3 separate regions of the Homo sapiens genome follow, and regions 1 and 3 are each linked to region 2. The links are contacts of gene promoters, found by promoter capture Hi-C in blood cells and fetal thymus (Javierre and others, 2016). All regions are on one chromosome and are shown on one strand. Each heading gives the region's core, a stretch centred on a gene start or on the middle of the fragment in contact. The rest is flanking DNA. Distances are from core to core; before and after follow the strand shown. Region 1 overlaps NPHP3-AS1 (NPHP3 antisense RNA 1). Region 2 holds the start of C3orf36 (chromosome 3 putative open reading frame 36). Region 3 overlaps NPHP3 (nephrocystin 3).

Evidence for each region. Contacts are between HindIII fragments. The CHiCAGO score rates a contact against its expected background, and 5 or more counts as called.
Region 1: a contact is called between a fragment that was not itself captured here and the fragment with the promoter of C3orf36 in region 2, in 7 of 17 cell types (naive B cells, total B cells, non-activated CD4 T cells and 4 more). The highest score is 9.6, in naive B cells.
Region 3: a contact is called between a fragment that was not itself captured here and the fragment with the promoter of C3orf36 in region 2, in 2 of 17 cell types (total B cells and naive CD8 T cells). The highest score is 8.1, in total B cells.

Annotation. Positions count from the first base shown.
Region 1 is chr3:132,751,512-132,754,925 of GRCh38, reverse strand. All of the region lies in intron 3 of NPHP3-AS1 (NPHP3 antisense RNA 1), which reads right to left. Among named protein-coding and RNA genes, the nearest start is that of NPHP3-ACAD11, 31 kb to the right of the region's middle. The HindIII fragment of the contact is 161 bases long and covers 1,546-1,706 here.
Region 2 is chr3:133,928,232-133,931,924 of GRCh38, reverse strand. C3orf36 (chromosome 3 putative open reading frame 36) reads left to right here and starts at 2,113. Exons shown (of 1, transcript NR_161373.1): 1 at 2,113-3,693. The HindIII fragment of the contact is 5,965 bases long and covers 388-3,693 here.
Region 3 is chr3:132,710,229-132,713,697 of GRCh38, reverse strand. NPHP3 (nephrocystin 3) reads left to right here. Exons shown (of 27, transcript NM_153240.5): 6 at 412-572. NPHP3-ACAD11 (NPHP3-ACAD11 readthrough (NMD candidate)) reads left to right here. Exons shown (of 45, transcript NR_037804.1): 6 at 412-572. Among named protein-coding and RNA genes, the nearest start is that of NPHP3-AS1, 9.8 kb to the left of the region's middle. The HindIII fragment of the contact is 2,513 bases long and covers 644-3,156 here.

The DNA of each region.
Region 1 (3,414 bases), core at 377-2,876, 1.2 Mb after region 2:
TTGTCTCCTACCACCCACTACTACTTTGTGAATCAGATTCTATTTCTGTTCCCATTTTATCATCCTTTTTATAATTCTGATAAAATATTAGGGCTTAAAAGGGTTAAAATTTTGTCCATTAACTATAATAACCTGGGTTCAATAAAACATTAGTCAATAAAACAAAGTGCTGGGATTACAGGCGTGAGCCACCGCGCCCGGCTGACTTGGTGGTCTTTGATTAATGTTCTGGGAATGGTTAGTGTTGGTTCCAATGGAATAGCCTTTCCTGGTTGCTGAATGTTTACAAGTGCAAATCTAAAGTTCAATCTGAATAGACATAATCCTCAGAACACTGGGTGATAGTTGCCACTCTAGGTGACCACTGTCATTCTGTTTGTGCTTCTATTTCCCATTAGAGTTGAGGTTAAATTCTTAAACAGTCTCATGTTAGGAAATGTTGTCTTCTCTAATTTAACAAAATGTTCCGTTTGGGGGCAGAATTTGCCAGGTAATTACCATAGAGTGGTCACCTTATTTTGATATTCGTCAGGAACTATCTTTATCCCTGCAGAGGGTATGTGTCCCCACTCCATGCTACTGCTCTGCACAGTGAAGACCCTTCATGCTGCTCTTGGTGCAGCCAACATCATTCTTTTCTGTAAGCATCATAAAACATAGGGCAAAAAAATAATTCTGTGGGATCAACTCACTGGACTGAGACACATGTCAAGTTAATGTCAAAGCTAGACTGGCAATGCACTAGGCTGTCATAATGTAGTCTGCATTTCTTTAATCATAAGTTAAGCAATCATTTTTCTGATTGCATAATTCTCTTTTGGGAGATATGATATGTACTTCAAAATCCCCTAGTGTTGTTAGAATGTTTTTCTCTTGACCTAGAAAGGGGAAACTATAAGAGGTTTCCTGCTGAATTAACTCCCAAAAAAGAACTGTTTGGTAAATTTAGTTATTTAACATATCTGTTCCTATTTCCATTAAGAAAAATGTGACAAAATGAAAACACCAAGTTTTACTTTTGCCCAGTGCTTCTATAGATGAAACTCATTCTTAACATTGGGTCATAGAGAGAACTCTGGACTTGGTGCCAGCAACTGAATTCTAGATATTGTGCCTTCTGCCATTTACCCTTTCAACCTGCTAAGGAACTTGAAGATACTCTCCCTCCACAGCTGAGCTTATTCACCTTCGAAATGGGCTTAGAGTGGAAAGCCTACACCAATTCATTTATGCCATCTATGCAAATATTCATTGGCCTAAGTTTTCAAAGAACAAACAATAAACACTTAATTTAAGAAAATGGAAAAGATGACTGCCAGTACTGATACTGTAGTTTACTCAATGATAATTTAATTAGAACACTTTAATATCCCATAAGAGTGTGTGACAAGAAAAAAAGAAAGAAAGAAAGAAAGAAAAACCAAGCAGCTTTGCTAAGCTGGGCTCACTGAGTTAAATACAGTTAAATATATTGACTGTTCCTCAACAATTCTGCACTCAATATCTTATTTCCTGATAAATTTTCAGAAAGATTCTCAAAAAGCTTTAGACTCTCTTATCTTCCAATAAGTCTATAGAGATACTTTTATGTGGATGAAACATGTTTTCAGGGGAAGTCACTAAATTAATAGCATTTAATTGAGTCCTTTTTTATTGATAGCTACTAAAACTATATGTTGTCCAAACAACAGTCCATCTAACAAGCTTTCCACACAGCCTACAGATAGTAGTTTATTTCACAAAGGTCAGTGGATCAGTTTCATTTGTCATGCTCTGCGGTAGTTAACAAGAGTGTTGATAGCATGTTTATCACTATATATGCTAGAACGTTGTGTTTTTCATTCATCATTTCAATTACTTACATAGTGTGGCATAACAAAGCACTGGCTTAAAATGCAGCAGTAAGTCTCCCTTCTGATTTAAAAGCTGTATGCATCTCTGACAGTTCTGAGCAATGCTTTATATGGCTTTGTTTACCTTGTTCTAAGATGAAATGACAATTCATTTTTCATAAATAATCTGAAGAGTCTTTGCAGCAGATATTTTTTCCTTTGAAGTAAATTTAAAAGAGGGCTTCAGATGTATACATATATTTTTTATTAAGTAGCAAATGGAAAATACCTCCAAAAGTTTTGCCCTGTGACATCTGGTAGAAAGTCTTGTAAAACAGAAGCCACTCTATAGGTAAATGACAAATATACTATCTAAAAGCCATAATTTATACCTCTTTTTGAACACACAATTTTCCACATGCTAGAGTTTGGATACTACTCTCCTATTACCTGTATATTGGAAACACAATCAAATCATTGTGTTAGAACAAGAAAGCATTAGGCTCTTGGATAATGGATCTTATGCTAAAAAGTACACATTTTGAAGTGTTCTGTTTTTCATTTTTGAGGTAGCTGTGCTTTGAATTTACTTACTAACTTCCTTTACTCAGTGTGGGAGCTATGGAAGAACTCCAGAGTAGAGAGCAAGAGATTTCAGGTTCTGGTCTGGGCCCTAGCATTCGTTTTTTGGAAATAACTAGTTAGTTAGTTAGTTTGGTTGATTGATTTTGAGACGGAGTCTCGCTCTGTCACCAGGCTGGAGTGAAGTGGCGTGATCTCAGCTCACTGCAACCTCCGCCTCCCAAGTTCAAGGGATTCTCCTCTCTCAGCCTCCGGAATAGCTGGGACTACAGGCACGCACCACCATATCCAGCTGATTTTTGTATTTTTAGTAGAGACGGGGTTTCACCATGTTGGCCAGGATGGTCTCAATCTCTTGACCTCGTGATCCACCCACCTCAGCCACCCAAAGTGCTGGGATTGCAGACATGAGCCACCGCGAGCTGTAAATAACTAGTTTTTGAGAAAATACTGAAATTTCTTGGGCCTCAGTTCTCAGAACTATAAAACTAGACAAGAAGGTCTTCAAATCTTCCAGGTCTATAAGGAATCTATGATTTCATAATCCAAAGAAAGCAACATGATATAAGTAAAACACTTTAAATTCATAAAGAACATTTGTGAATTCTGCTATTAACTAACAAGAGGGGTGAGGTTTCAGAAAGCATAGCTGTGTCTGATAAAGAAAGGGTATATTTAGAATGAATCCTTTTCATTAATTAAGGTGTCTTTCTTGTTTAATTTTCCCAGGGTATTACATTCAATACAATTACATCTGTTTTCAATAATAATATCTTTTCTTTTAGGGAATTGTGTTTTTAATATAATAAATTTAGTTTTACCATAAAAGTATAATAATGTATGCATTTTATTACATTTTTATCTCCTACAAATATATAAAAGGAAAGAAAATGGTTCTGTACTTTCCACATAACATGTATGCTAAAATAGCTTATAGGCATACTTTGCATTTAATTATACTGACATCATCTAGGAGTCTCATAAAATTTTAATATGTATC
Region 2 (3,693 bases), core at 864-3,363:
ACTCACAGAGGATGCAAATTCCCAACACCCTCCACCCAGCCCCAGCGTCTACTTCTGTGGGTCTAATGGGGACCCAGGAATGGCTCTTTTAACGGCCCCCTCATGAGATTGATGTGGGTAGTTCCCAAATCCTGTGAGGTGGGCTGTCAGTGCAATAGAGCCTGGGGTATGCCCATTTGTGCTTAGGCCACTGAGAAATTTACAGGCTCGATAGGCCTTTGGTATGTTCAAAGGTGAGTGAAGGATAACAAGGTGAAGAGATGCCTGTGAATCTGATTTTTTGGATGGCTGCAACTAAGAGTCAATGGGCATGAAAAACAATCCAAGAGCTCACATTTATATGAGGCCCTTATCAGTACTGAGAGAGACATTCTCACTTCACAAGCTTGGATGTGCAAAAAGAAAAAAATCACTTATTTCTTTAAATCAGTTATTGATTTCAAACCCCCCATCCTACTGTCTGGCTGGAAATTCAATATCAACCATGCTTGGGTCTGGCTCCTAGAGCCATCTGAAGGTCCTTGGATGCCTACGCATTCAAGGGTGCCATTGTGGGTCTTTGGTCCCTTTCCCATTTGAGGCTGTTTAATGGCCCTGCTTCTCACCTGAGCCTGGAAACCCTACAAAGCCGAGACCCCAGGGTTAGGCCCACCTCCCTGTGCACACTCGCGGCTATGCCCTCTCCCGGCCCCAGTCCTAGGAAGCCCACTCCTCTGCACCACTCCCTCTCCCTACAGAATCCCGCTCCTCAAGGGCTGAACAAAAAAGCCGGAAAAGGAAGAGTGTGCAGGAACCTTTTTTATTCAATCCTTCTTTTACCCTTCTTGGAAAAAGCGCAAATACAGTGATAACTAAATACCGTATCTCTATCAATTATCCTTTGGCCCAAAGCCCTTTGGGGTGATCCTCCATGATGGATGCCCCATGTAAAGGTGAGGAATCTGATCCCGAGGAAGCAACCATTGTGGCCAATTTCACATAGATAATAGCTGGCCAGGTCTAGACTCAAACCAGGCTGTCCACTTCTCTCTGGTCCAGCCCAATTGCCCCAGCTGAGTCATTCTGAAGAGTCAGCATGGACTAAAATGGTGGGGAGGCCCCTCTTTTCCCACTGATGTTCACTGGCCCATGGGAGGGAAGTGGGGGAATCTCTTGAGGGCCATTAAGGTGGGTAACAAAGGCAAAAGAACCAGGTAACAGTTCATTTACTTACCTTCTATTCAACTAGCAACAACATCACAACTATTCATTAAACAGGGCCAATTTATCCCTATAGCACCATGAGTTAAAGAGAGTTGTGGAGAAAAGAGACAAAGAGGGAAGGGTTTTGAGAAGAAAAGGCCCTGAGAATCCTGCACACAGACCTTCAAGGGAACAGCTCCATCTGGTGACTGCTTAGCAGATTCTTGCTCAAGAAACAAAGCCATATTGTGATTTTATTCAACCACTCTCAAAGATGGAGAGATACAGTTAAGCTGGAGGCTGAAGCCAGTCAGTATCAAATTGATACTAAAATATTATATTGCAGCAAATCCAGAAGAAATACATCCTATCTTTCGCAACCACAGGAAGTAAATACCTGGAAGAAAGGTCCATCTCCTGCCAGTAGCACCAGACACCAGATTCATTATAACCTTTCATCAGAGATTAAATATGGAAACAGATCCTGGAAAAGCCCTTGGCAAATCATAAATGAGAGGAAGTTTTTCTCCATGGCATACCCTGGCCATTCCTCCACTCTCCAGCCACATCATGTCTCCAGCCCTGCTACAACTTGACAGCAATAATAATAACTAAAATGTGCACAGATCTTTACAGTTTACCAAGCCATTAACCCATTTAAAACACTTCTTTAATCAGTAAATCAGTGGGGAAAGGCTTGGCTATGCTGTGGTAACAAACCTCTCGAATCTTAGTCACTTGACACAACAAAAGATGGTATCTCGCTCACAGAACCTGTGGTGATCTGGGTGACTCTCAGGTCAGTGGCTCAGTAGTGCCCCTCTGCCTGCTCAGGGCCTGGAGGATTGGCCTGAGAGCCCCCCCAACCAGTGTCTCAGTAACTCAGACTGTTTGGAACCTGAGGTACCTCCATTTCATTATAAGCTGCCATGATGGATGGGGCAGGGGAAGAAAGTCCTGGAAGATCCCGCACTGCTAAGCAATGCTTTGTCCCAAAGTAACGCTCTTCACTCTGCTCCCAGCCTAGCTGCCGCAAGAGCGGAACAGAATATTCTGTGTGCTCAGGAGAAGAAAAGAGCAGATATGGTTGAGCACTAAAACCCTCTACTGTGGGTAGTGAACCTAGGTGGACACAGTTGCTCACCGGGACACTTAAACCAGCTTTGCGGGGCTGTCGGGGTTGGGAAGCACAGTCTGGAAAGATTTCCCAATGGAGGAAGCACCAATTGTGGGTCCCTGAAGCTGAGGGGATGATGCCCAGGCAAGGCCGAGGCAGTCTGCAGAGGGCTGGGGAGGTGGGAAAGACGATTTTGCTCAGAGGAGGCAGAGATGGGGTGGTGGCTGAGAGAGATGCAGGGTCAAGGAAAGGATGGCTTCAGAGAGGAGAGATTTGCTGGGGCAAAAGGCCACAGGATGGGGAGGCTGCGGGGTCCAAGAGGACAGCTGATGGAGCGAGACCCTGCAGGCAAGGAGGAGATGGGGTGACTCATGGCAGAATCGCACCAGAGTTCCCACAGCCCTGTGCGGCCACTATGACTAGTCCCATCCTGTACATGGAGAAAACGAGGCTCCTTCCAGTTGTCCCTCACGCCTCCCTTGATTTATGTACTACCTGATGTGTATAAGGACAGGTGGTGACAAACACATGGTCCCTACCCTTCAAGGACATATAATCCAGAGCTAAGACAAGACCTTAACACAGGGCAAAGTACTATGCTCTGAGTTCATTTGATGAGCGATGGGAGAACGGGCTTGATCCTAGCCATGCGGGAGAGACTGGAATTCAAGAGAGTCAAATGTGCTGGGAAAGACTTTCTGGGCAAAAGGAATAAGCAAAGGTGTGCAAAGGTAAGGAAGCAGGAAACCTTTGCACATCTTGAGAACTCGCCGGCCAGAGGCCTGTGAAGGAGCGCAGTGGTCAGGCAGGAGAGGCAGTCGGATGCAGGCTGAGACCATCCTGGAGGGTCTTGAGGCTGGCTTACCCCAGGCTGTGAGTAGTGGGCTCAGCCTAGTCCCGGCTCCTGGGTTAGTGCTCACGTGTCTCTCTGCCCCCTCAGGGCCTGGAGGAATGGCCTTAGAGCCCCCACCAACCACGCTCAGGAAGGCATTCCTAGCTCAGAGTACCCTCCTGGAGTCTACACTGGAAGGGGCTCCTGAGTGGGCCGCGCCACACCCCGAGGAGCAGAGGCGCAGTCCTCCCGCGTGCTCCCAGCACACTCCACCCCTACCCAGCACACCCACGGGGCCCCCACCTTGCTCACCTGGGGGGAACCACCCACTCTGCGCCCTCTCAGGGAGAGGTGGTGGCCGCTGCTCTATCCCCTCCCTCTCTTCCTCTTCCACCTTCTCTCTCTTCTCATCTGGGTGCTGGAACCCAAGGGTGAAACTGAGAGTCAGAAAGTCTCAGTCTCAAGGCAGAGCGGGGCAACTAATTTAAAACGGCTTCTACTCCGGCCCCCAGTGTGACTAATCTCCTTCTCTTCGCTCCACAGGTCTATAAATGGGCCACAG
Region 3 (3,469 bases), core at 651-3,150, 1.2 Mb after region 2:
CTTTAGCGTTCTGATATATCATCGTGGATGTTTTTTACTATACAGATTTATGGATCTATATTTTGCACTCTTTATGACAATAAAACAGATTGTTCATAGTAATAATAACAAAAAGAAACAAATACCAAAGCAAAATAGCCTAATACTGTCTCCTGTTGTTCTAGCTTTACTATGAAATAAGTCATTTTCTGAGCTAGAAAAAGGCCAAGTTGCTAAGCTATTATTATTTGTATTTGAGAGAAACTTGCCTTTTTAAGATTTTCTTTAAAATGTGATTATTTTTAAAATTTTATATGAAAAGATATCCAGTATAACCTGTTTTAAAGCGTGCTTTTTATTTTAAGTAGTATGAATCTCACTTGATCTTTAGTTAAATACATTAAACTTTTGTATGTTTTCATTTGTTTTTAGGACTATTCACCTAAACTTAAGAGAATGTGCGAGACAATGGGATATTTTTTCCATGCTGTTTATTTTCCAATAGATGTTGAAAATCAATACCTCACTGTAAGAAAATGGGAAATTGAGAAAAGTTCTTTAGTTATTTTATTTATTCACTTAACATTACCAAGGTAAGCTGAAAAAAAATGTAATTTATTATAAGCAGTAAACTGTAAATAGAATTGAGTTTGCCAAATAAGCTTCAAAGATAAATTTTATTGCATCCTTATAATAAAAAAATCCATGAAATTCAATAAATTCTACAACTGTTTCACACTTAAATAAAATAATTAAAAGTTTTAAGCTGTTAGACTTGTTTCATAGGTCATATGATCAACACCTTAATTTTTAGCTTATTTTAATCAGAGTTTGGCAAATATAGCCCAAGGGCCAAATCTAGCCAGGAGTTTGCTTTTGTAAATAAAGTTTTATTGGAACACAGCCACATTCATTCATTCATATATATATAAATTTTTTTTTCTTTTTTTTTTGAGACAGAGTCTTGCTCTGTCGTCCAGGCTGGAGTGCAGTGGCGCAATCTCGGCTCACTGCAAGCTCCACCTCCCAGGTTCACACCATTCTCCTGCCTCAGCCTCCTGAGTAGCTGGGACTATAGGCGCCCACCACCACGCCTGGCTAATTTTTTGTATTTTTGGTAGAGATGGGGTTTCACTGTGCTAGCCAGGATGGTCTCAATCTCCTAACCTTGTGATCCCCCTGCCTTGGCCTCCCAAAGTGCTGGGATTACAGGCGTAGGCCAACACACCTGGCCCATTCGTGTATTTTCTACAGCTGCCTTCATACTATAATAGCAAAGTTGAATCTTTACAACAGAAACCATGTGTCCTACAAAACCTGAGTTGTTTACTATCTGGCCTTTTACAGAAAAAGTTGATAACCCCTAATTTCAATAATCAACATTAACCTTCATTCTTTTCTTTCTTTGGATACAAACTGAGAGGTATTTGAACTATGTATTTTACATATAAAGTTCATGTACTTGATCACTTGTGTAGGTGTTGAATCATAATTTACATTTTTTGAGGAGCTTACTATTTAAATAGACCCAGTAAAGTGAACAATGTTCTTATAATGTGAATATAATCATGCTAATGAATCTTGTCTGCAAGTAAAGATTTTTTTTCACCAGTTAGATATAGAGATAAAGGACAAAATAAGTTTAATAAGAGGCTAATTTTTCTTTCTAGATTTACTGTCTAAATTTAACCTTTCCAAAGCATTTTGCTTTTTTAATTGTGGACCAACTCTGACTTTAACTGTGTATAGATATATGTAAGGCCTTAAGTTTCACCAGTTTCCCTGTAGCATAACCCATTGTAGACCCTTAAGACTTTGCCTAGTGGCCGGGTGAACAGGGAACTACCTGGTCAATGAGCCTTCATCCAGAATATGTTTAAGGAGTTCTTCAACTTGATTGCCTTCAGTAGGGTTTCATTGCTATCCACCCCTTCCCTTTTCTTTCCCTGTTTTTATATTTATTAAGGATATATCTTATCTTATTACTTAATGATTGAGTAGTTTTTTTATCTTACTTGGTAATATGTTATTTGTTGTTACATTATTTTTTCTAATTCTTATCTTTGATCCATAAAACCATTTTGTTTTTTCTTTACATTAAAGAAACTTTCTGGGTGACAGAGTATGACCCTGTCTCAAAAACAAACAAACAAAAACCTTACTTTTTAATAAAACATTGTATACATTATTCTTACACTTTAACATTTATTTTTCTTTTCCAATTTTAAACTCTTCTTAATGTTTTCCTCCCCATTTATTTCATATTTTATTACTTTTGCTTAGATTTCAGTTTATCCCCTTTTAGTAAAATTTTATATTGTACATTTTTAAAAATTTTATTCTTATTAAAGAAATGAGGATTTTAATTTCTTAAATTTAATAATTTTAGTCTCTACTTTGGCTTTATTTTACTTAAACTTTTCTTATTCCAGTTGCTTATTATTTTATTATTTGTTTCTTTCATGCCTGTCAAGAGGTATGGCAGTGGGGATGGGCTCCACACCACAAACAAGGGCTGTTGGAGCCTTTGTTTCAGATTTTTCCTTCGCCTACCCTGATGACTACCCCATCCTTCCCAAAAGATGAATCTAGAAAAGCCTCTCCTGAGCAGCTTGGAAGCTCCATGGGGAAACACTTTCCTGTCAATAATTATTCCCTGTGTGCAGATGGTATCCACAGAGTTATTTGAAGATAGTGTTCACTGGCTTCTCACACTATTCAGGCCTCTTATAAGAAATTATGAAGCTCAAAATGTATGGTTTTGATGTATGAAATGATTGGATTTGGAGCAAGCTATGCTAACAACATACTTAGTTGTAGGCTGGGAAGGTAGGCAGGAAGTCATGCTTAGTGAGGTGCACAGGCACTGTGCCTCTCGGTGTTACTGACTGGAGAAGGTGCATTAGAGGGAAACGGCCAGGCTCCTGCACTGCTTTTCCAGGGGTTCTTCTTTAATGCCTTTAATTTGACCAGCCTCACTTCATGGAAGGAGAAAAATCCCGGGAGAAATCTCCTACAACGAAGAATGGGAACTGAAATAGGGTGAGTCCGGGAGAGGCTGGCTGAGTAGGAATATTCCAGATAAAGGTTTAAAAATGAGGAATTCTTTGCTCATGATTGGCCCTCTTTCATTACATCAGCACCCTTGTTGGGCAGACCAGACTCACTAAGAAAGCTTGAACCTACGTAGAAGGAGAGGTGCCTCTCCCTTTGCACAGCAGCACAGAGGGGCGACTGTGACTGGTTTTCCTCAGGGCATCATCAGTCTTTCTCAAGGGATGGGGAGGCTTCCGTGCCTAAATAGTAATTCAGTCACCTTTCAGGACTTCTTAGGCCCTATTATTGGTTTCATTCAGCTTTTTTTTTTTTTTTACCAGATCACCTATAGAGTTTCGTTATAGAATTTAGGCAAGTGGAAGCCCTTGTTTGTTCTATACTTGAACTTTCTTCATTATGCCTCAGCTTTACTGTTTTAACTCCTCCAGCCCCA